Linked DNA regions of Homo sapiens: region 1 is linked to region 2. The links are contacts of gene promoters, found by promoter capture Hi-C in human tissues and cell types (Jung and others, 2019). All regions are on one chromosome and are shown on one strand. Each heading gives the region's core, a stretch centred on a gene start or on the middle of the fragment in contact. The rest is flanking DNA. Distances are from core to core; before and after follow the strand shown.

Region 1 (4,303 bases), core at 589-3,088, 79 kb after region 2:
TTATATGAACTTGACCTCATTTAATGCCACTTCTTTTATTTTACCAAAAATACATATATACATATATACACATACATACATATGTATACATATATATCTATCCACACATATATAGATACATGTATCTACACACACATATATACATATATATGTATACACACATGTATATATAGACAGACGGAGAGAGAACTGTATTAGTTTTCTATTGCTAGTGTAATACATGAGCACAAACTTAGTAGCTTGAAACAGCACAAATTTATTTTGTGTTCTGTAGGTTGGAATTTGACATGAGTCTCATCCTTTCTGGTGGCTCTGGGGGAGAAACCATTCCTTTGTCTTTTCAAGCTTCCTTGGATCATGGCCCTCTTCAAAGCCAGCAAGACTAGGAAGAGTCCTCATATTGCACCACTCTGATCATTTTTCTGCCTCCCTCTTTCACATTTAAAGACCCTTATGATTGGACTCACCCAAATAATCCAGGACAATCTCACCATCTCAAAGTCCCTAATTTAGTCATATCTGCAGAATCTCTTTTGCCACCTAAGATAACATATTCACAGGTTCTGGGAATTAGGACATGGACATCTTTGGGGGACTACTATTCTGCCTACAACAAACACTTACTAAATGCCAAGCCTTATACCAGGGACTGAAATAGAACCCAACCCCTTTCCTAGAGGAGCTTACAATTTAGGAGATATTTAAACAGGTGACTGAAATACAAAATAATAGGTGCTATGGCAGAATTGAGAACCAATTATAGCACTGTGGAGGAAACAACTGTCTGCCTGGTATTGAGGGTGAGCTAGAAAAAAAATTGGCTAAAAGATTACAATTATCTTTGACATATTGAAATGATTTTATCACTTTTCATCCAGGTTTTGAGACTCTGGGATATTCAACACCAGCTGTCCATCCAGAGGATAGCTTGTTCTTTCCCCAAAAGTCAGGACTTCAGATGTCTCTTCCACTTTGATGAAGCCCATGGACGACTTTTCATCTCGTTTAATAACCAGCTAGCATTGTTGGCAATGAAAAGTGAAGCCAGCAAGAGGGTGAAAAGCCATGAGAAAGCAGTCACTTGTGTTCTTTACAATTCTATCTTGAAGCAGGTAATGATGCTTTCTTTTCTTTCACTCTCCTAACATATCTCCAAGTCCAGAGGCTCATTTACTTAATTCAGTTTAAGGTAAAATGAAAGACAAATATAGTAAAGGCAAATATGGGAAGAAATGATTTAATAGCCATGTGCTTTTCTGCAATAATATACATTCAGGTGGACTTGGAGAATGATTTCATTTTCAGCCAGTGACCACAGGAGCAGTGATAGAGTTATAAGGAATTACAGCATTCCAGCTAAAACAAAACAACCTGTAATATAATTGAACTTATCTTTGTTATCTGCTAGTCTTGAGCCAAATGCAAGTGAACCTGCTTGTAAAATTCTATGAACACCATCTTCCGGTATCCCTGTGGAAAGTTCTGAAATATGCATGAAACATAATTAGCAGAGATCCATTTTGCCAGCATATTTTACACCAGTGGTTCACAGTGGCAGCCCAGAATGTATTCATAATAAAATGATTCAGTTAAACATGATGCCACTTGGTATGCAGCACAAGTGTTGTTTGTCTCCCCACCAGTTTAATGACGCTCCGCAGCCTTGGCTTAGGGGACCACTACCTGCATCTCAATGAAGAAGCAGGGCTCCCCTGGAGCAGAGTTACTGCGCAGACCACAGCCCTTCTTGGAGGACAGGGCGGCCCAGGCAGTGAAGCCAGTGAGCTCAGTGTGGGGCAGCCTGTGGGTATCATGAAGGGAGCAAGCAACATCAGAGGTTAGCCTGCTGCAGTGATCCCGTCAGGCCTGATGGTAACAGCACAGCAGGAGCCAAGCAGAAGCAAGTCTCCAGCTTACAGCCAATTAAACAGTAACTCAATCCATTCTTTCTTTTCCCTTCTGCAGAAGCTTCTGCATTCACATAGAAATGACTAGTGGAGATTTTGCGCAAGGGGTGGAAAGCCCTTTGTTAGTAATGGGTAGTGTGTCGTGTCACTATTTAAAACACTGTTTTCTGGTTATTCTAGGAGATAAAATCATTTAGAAAACAACTCATTTTGAATTCCATCTGCGGGAAAACATTTCCTGCTAAATGTTTTACTGATCTTTATGAAGGCAACCAGTTAATTTGACTCCCTGGTGGCCACTGAGAGATGTATTTGCTTCCAAGAGAACATTCTCCTAATTGAGATCTGCAAAGTTAAAATGCTAAATTTGTGTGTAGATGTTAAAATCCTATGTTGCCTGGCCATAAGATGAGCAATATTCCCTGAGAAATTCAGGAAATTAGACACAAAGAAGATCTGGATTTATTTGGGGCATAAAGACAAAGCCAAGGTAACTCACATGCATGCCACTTATAGGCAACCAAAGGACAATGTACATATGGTATATGATGTAGGATGTATCATTATACAATTGAGTTGAGTATTTACACCTCTACTTGCTGTGAATAACATAAATAATGATAAGCATTGATATGTATGTAAAGCACATAGAGCTGTGTATCACATACATCAGCATTTCCTATTAGCTGCTGAGTTACAGAAACATGAACATTGTATGTGTTACATTTATAATTATAAAAATGTATTGCAGAAAAGTACAAAGAAAATATCACTCACATTCCCATCAGTCAGTGATAACTTATCATTTTAGAGTAATTAGACAAAGCAAATAACACAGTTTTGAACAAGTGTCGTACCAAGAATGAAGAATTAGAGATAATAAACTATAGTTTCTTGCCCCCAGTAGCTCAGGAAGATTCAACTCTTTAAGGGAAAATCTGGGTCCTAACCATAGTGCTGATGATTGTTGGACAGGTGCTCATCACAGGATTGTGGAATGAAAGAAGGGAAGGGAGACATATTACTAACAAGAAACAGTAGAACATAGTAAAATGAAGTAGAGGTAAAAACCGAAGTGCTTTTTATGGAGAGTGATCAATTCTGCCTGAGGCCAGTGTTGGTCACATTTCAGCAGAGCCCTGAAAGCTAACATCTCTAAAAGGAGGAGGAAGTAGTTCCAGACAGAAGATACAACGTGAGCACCTGCAAAGAAGCTTGAGCACTCACGGTGCATTTTTGGAGAGAGGGTTTATTTTGGTGTGGCAAGTTTGGGAATACTTTGCAGACATCGTGGGAGTTAAAGCAGTAAAGGGATCTTAGGAGCATATTGACGGCCATTTGTTGAATGTATCACTGTCTGGTCTTGGAAACATAAAGCATAGAATTGAGATTAAAACAATGTTTTTCACAGTGTGATCTTGGACCTCTGGGAGACTCAGATTCTCTCAGGGAATCTGGGAGGTCAAAATTATTTTCATCATAATATTAATTTATTGTTTGCTTTCTAAACTTTCACTCTCTCAAAAGTGTACAGTGGAGTTTTCTAGAGGCTGCATGATGTGTGTTGTGTGATAACAGCATTGTTCTTATGGCTAAGGGAATGTGTGCTCTTATATTCTTGTGTTTTAATGTCTCCCTATAAATATCTAATATGGTAAATAAGTATAAAAATACAGATCTATCTATTTGTGTTGTGTGTGTGTGTGTGTGTGTGTGTGTGTGTGTGTGTGTATTCCACATAAAGCTATTTGGATTCTTCAATACTTTTTAAGAATGCAAAGGAATCCCAAGACCAAAAGTTTTCAGAACTGCTGGGTTGGAAACATGTGAATTCAAATACTGGACAGACTGCTTAGCCTGTCTGAGCTTTAGTTTGCCAGCTTCTTAAAATGTGTGTGTCTGTGGGGGTGTAGGAATAGTAATGGGAATAGCACGTGCCTCCCTGGCATTGCCTTGTTAGGACTGAAATCTTGGAAGTGTCCTCTTGTCTCCCATGCTGCCAGCCCTGTAAGGGTCTTTAAAGTCCCCCATACCAAAGAGGGCGAATGTTGCTGCTTTATGACATCTCCTTTTCTTATTAACTTCTTAAGATTCCTTAATCTTTATTTTAACAATGTGGCATGTGATGACAAATGTTAGGAAGAATTAGAAAGGGGAGGGTACCCTGAACTGCAGTTTTTCCCTACCTCTGCTTCTCCTCAGGAATGTCCCTTGAGGTGGGAAAGTTGTTTATCCTCCTCCTTCTCTTCTTCGCCATTGCAGTTTCGTCTTGTAAACATTTAGTGGCAAGACTCAGCTTTGGTCCTCAGCTCCCTGAAGTCTCCAGAGCCATCTCAACCCACACTTACTTCTCCTCTTCCTGAGCATTGGTCGCATTTTTTAGTTGTTTTCCCAGT
Region 2 (4,209 bases), core at 1,088-3,587:
ATGTAAGATAACTTAGGGGAACTTGTAGTATTAGGGCTTAAAAATGTTTTCCTAACTTACAAGAAGGACTTATCGAAGAAAAGCAAATCTGGTAAATACACCCCCGTTCTGTGTGTGTGATACATATCAATACATATATACACATCTATAATGCCACTCTTTCCCTTTGAGCCTAGCTATGGCTTCAGAATGCTCTGAACACAGCACTGTGTTGGAACACTGAACACAAGAGGTTGGAATTGGCATTAAAGATGAGCTAGACGGATAATTGCCCTGACTAGACTGTAAAGCCCTTATGGCAGGCACCAGGTCACAATTCAGGACTTGACATATATTAGGCATATATATATATAGAGAGAGAGAGAGATAGAGAGAGAGAGAGAGACAGTGTCTATCTCTGTCACTCAGGCTGGAGGGCAGTGGCGTGATCTTGGCTCACTGCAACCTCCGCCTCCCAGGTTCAAGCGATTCTCCTGCCTCAGCCTCCCAAGTAGCTGGGATTACAGGCGCCTGCCACCATGCCCAGCTAATTTTTATATTTTTAGTAGAGACGGGGTTCCTCCATGTTGGCCAGGCTGGTCTTGAACTCCTGACCTCAAGTGATCTGCCTGTCTTGGCTTCCCAAAATATGGAATTACAGGCATGAGCCACCGTGCCCTGCCTATTAGGCTCTTAATAAATGTTTTTTTTGAAAGAATAATGAGAGATGGATGAAAAAATGAAAGCATGAATGAAACTTCATTTTTTTCTATAATGGGTACAGGAACTCCTACAGGATGCTCTTCTCTCTGTTCTGTACCATGCCTCTAGTGAACACCAGCTCAGAGAATGTTAGAGCCGGAAGAGACCCTAGAGAAGATGTAATGCCAACTTTTTAGTTTACAGAAGTGAAAATAAAGTGCAACGGGCACATCCATCTAAAGTGCAGTGATACAGTTGGGCAGTGTCCCCACCCAAATCTCACCTTGAATTGTAATAATCCTCACATGACAAGGGCGTGGCCAGGTGGAGATAATTGACTCAAGGGGGCGGTTTCCCCATACTGTTCTCCTGGTAGTGAATAAGTCTCATGAGATCTGATGGTTTTATAAATGGGAGTTACCCTGCACATGCTGTCTTGCCTACTGCCATGTAAGTCATGACTTTGCCCTCATTAGCTTTCTGTCATGATTTTGAGGCCTCCCCAGCCATGTGAAATTATGAGTCAATTAAACCTCTTTCCTTTATAAATTACCCAGTCTCAGGTATGTCTTCATTAGCAGTGTGAAAACAGACTAATACATGCAGTATCTGAAGTTTGGGAGCCATTCTGTTCTCTTCCGTATGTTACTATTTGTGTGACCTTTGGCATTTTCTTTGCTTTTTTTTTTTTTCTTTTTTGAGACAGGGTCTCATTCTGTTGCCCAGGCTGGAGTGCAGTGGCACAATCTTGGCTCACTGCAACCTCTGCCCCCCAGGTTCAAGGGATCCTTCTAACTCAGCCTCCCGAGTAGCTGGGATCACAGGTGTGCGCCACCATGCTCGGCTGATTATTTTTGTATTTTTACTAGATACAATGTCTCGTCATGTTGCCCAGGCTGCTCTCGAACTCCTGAGCTGAAGCCATCCACCTGCCTCAGCCTCCCAAAGTGCAGGGATTACAGGCGTGAGCCACCTTGCCCGGCTTTTTGCTTCTTTATCAGTAAAATGGGGATAATGATCACATCTGCCTTGTAGGATTGTTGTGAAGCTTAAACAAGACAATGAACATAAAGTTTTAGTGCCTGGCACATGGTTAATACTCAAAAAATGTTAATTTTTCTTCTTTTTCTCCTCCTTTTCATTATTATTAGCTGAACCAGTAATGACACTGCAAGCAATTTTATCATTAGATTTATCATATTATGTTATGCTGTGTTTTTTTATCACATTTTCAACAAGTTGGAAGCTTTTTTGAACCATCTCTATTTTATATACATAGAAACTAAGACAAAAAGAATATAAGAAACAGATTCCTTTTATATAAAAATAAAACATTTTCTGTGTATAAAACATAAAATTCCAGAATTTCATGCTTTTCTCTTTGACTAATCATATAGTTTCATAATATATATCCTATATAATGGTAAAAGTTGTCTTTAAATAATACAAGATGTCGTTTAATAAAAAATGAGTGGAATGAACTGTCCTTTTATTTCAAAAAAAACCATTTCAACATTTACATTATATATTTAAACTTTCAGTTGGAGAGGGGGAAGTGAAAGGGAAAGTTTTAGTTGGCTTTGTGTTGGTTGCCAGGAAACATACAAAAGGATCAGAACAGATGAAACAAACAACTCCACATTGCTGGGAAGGTGGCATTCAGAGTCAAGTACTTCATTGGTAGGGAAACTCTGCAGCTTTGTCATCTAACTCTTCCAGACAAGAAAGTGGAATTGAAAACTACAACATGTTAATGGAAGCAAGGTTAGTTAAAGAGATTTTTGGGAAGGTGCTTTTCTAATGCATTTAAAATGAGGATTGGAAGTTGTTTTCTGTGTCAGTTACTATAAATGTGGGGAAAGCTTTACACATTTTTAATCAAGCCAGGTTAAACAGAGTATAAGGAAGGGGTAAAAATACCATTTTAAAAGCATTCAACTGTAAATTTTGAAAATAAACTCTAGAATCAAATAAGTGAGAGGGTTGAGGGCTTTCATTTCCTACCTCAGCTTGAACATTTTGCCTCCTGATCGTATGCCTTGAAAGGTTTGTACTTTCATTTTGGAATTCTGTTGCTAAGTTGAGTTTCTTTTCAAAGGCACCTGTTGAAGGAAAAAGAAGATCCATCCTTATAGAAATAGTTGAAGGCAACTGAGAAAAGGTGAAGCCATTATGAGTTGCCAGAAAGCTGTACTTGAGTTAAACATAGGGTCACAGCTTGGGCCAAAGAGTCCTGAGAGAACAGAAGGTGTAACTGCATTTGAAGACTATGGCACAGGCCTGCTTGAAAACCAACTCAGCGTGGGTGACTTTGTAAAAATACAGAAGGCCTTTGAGGTAAGTGTGAAGCTTATTGACCAGATAGTTTGAGTTGTTCATGAAGGAGCCTAGAATGAAACACAGAGATATTTTTCTTTAAGCATTAAAAAAATACACTTAATTGTTATAGCAGAGAATTAAAAATAATTGGTTAGGCCTGGATTTAACACAATGTGCTTGGTAGCTTTGCCCCTCAGTTCTTTGGGCCAAATAATATTCTTTAGTTTGAAATTGCTTCACTGAATTTCATTACTATCAAGAAAGAACTATTTATTGTTGGAAAAAATTTTTTTCTTAGAGATCAACATATTTTGGGGAAACAAAAAATTATGGCTGTGAGTGAAGAAAGCCAGATCTCTAAGGTGACCTCCAGGAATAATTGTTCTTGCATTTAATACGGACATAGAACTCAGCAAATGCAAATATGCATACCCAGTTTGCAAAAAATTTCCTCCTGTCTCACTCACCCTAAGTGGCACAGCTCCTTTTCTAAGCTGATTCTGGCACTTTGTTGTCCCAAGATCCCTTATGAGGGACGAGTCTCCCACTCATTTTGTAAATCCTGGAACAATGCCAATAAAAACAAAATTAGAATTTTTCATTTTAACTCTGCATAAAAAATAAACCATAGGAATTTAACTGTAAATGAATAATTTTCTTCTCTCTTAGTCAATGAATTTTGAATTCTGCAGCTATGCATAATGAACAGCATACATCAAAGTGGTTTTTAGTTTCAAATATGGGTAGAAAGAAGTGCTCTTCCATGACGTAGAATTTAGGTAGTCATGAGCCTCCAACATTTCTACTATATTATGTTTACTAAAGTATGATCTAGGGCCTTCTTAAGATTGTCCGTGGGTGCTTGGAGTATCCATACTAATTTGAAATAGAAAATATTTTGGAATACCACCTGGAAATTAATAAAATATAATAAAAGCTCACAATATATTAGCCTGTAATAGGCACACATTTTTATCTTTGGATATCCACAAAAGAATATAACAAGTTGGGTTCCACCTGTATTGATAAATTAATGTCCCAATAGTATCAATCATTTCTTTATAATAGAACTTATCATATTTAGTAGCAAGACATGCTCTGTCCTACACTTTTCTCATTTCAACCTTCATATATTTGCTATTCAACCAACCTCATTTGTCTGAAAGATTTCACTGCTGCTGCTCATGCCCAGTGCCCCAAGTAAATTTA

What was found. Contacts are between HindIII fragments. The study calls those that stand out against the background at their distance.
Region 1: a contact is called between a fragment that was not itself captured here and the fragment with the promoter of WDR49 in region 2, in 2 of the 25 tissues and cell types used here (aorta and hippocampus).

The regions. Positions count from the first base shown.
Region 1 is chr3:167,572,727-167,577,029 of GRCh38, reverse strand. It overlaps WDR49 (WD repeat domain 49), which reads left to right. Exons shown (of 19, transcript NM_001366157.1): 8 at 879-1,112. Among named protein-coding and RNA genes, the nearest start is that of WDR49, 79 kb to the left of the region's middle. The HindIII fragment of the contact is 4,395 bases long and covers 1-4,035 here.
Region 2 is chr3:167,652,070-167,656,278 of GRCh38, reverse strand. It overlaps WDR49 (WD repeat domain 49), which reads left to right and starts at 2,337. Exons shown (of 19, transcript NM_001366157.1): 1 at 2,337-2,445; 2 at 2,780-3,018. The coding sequence starts at 2,854. RefSeq lists enhancers at 2,077-2,599, 2,600-3,123. The HindIII fragment of the contact is 2,457 bases long and covers 331-2,787 here.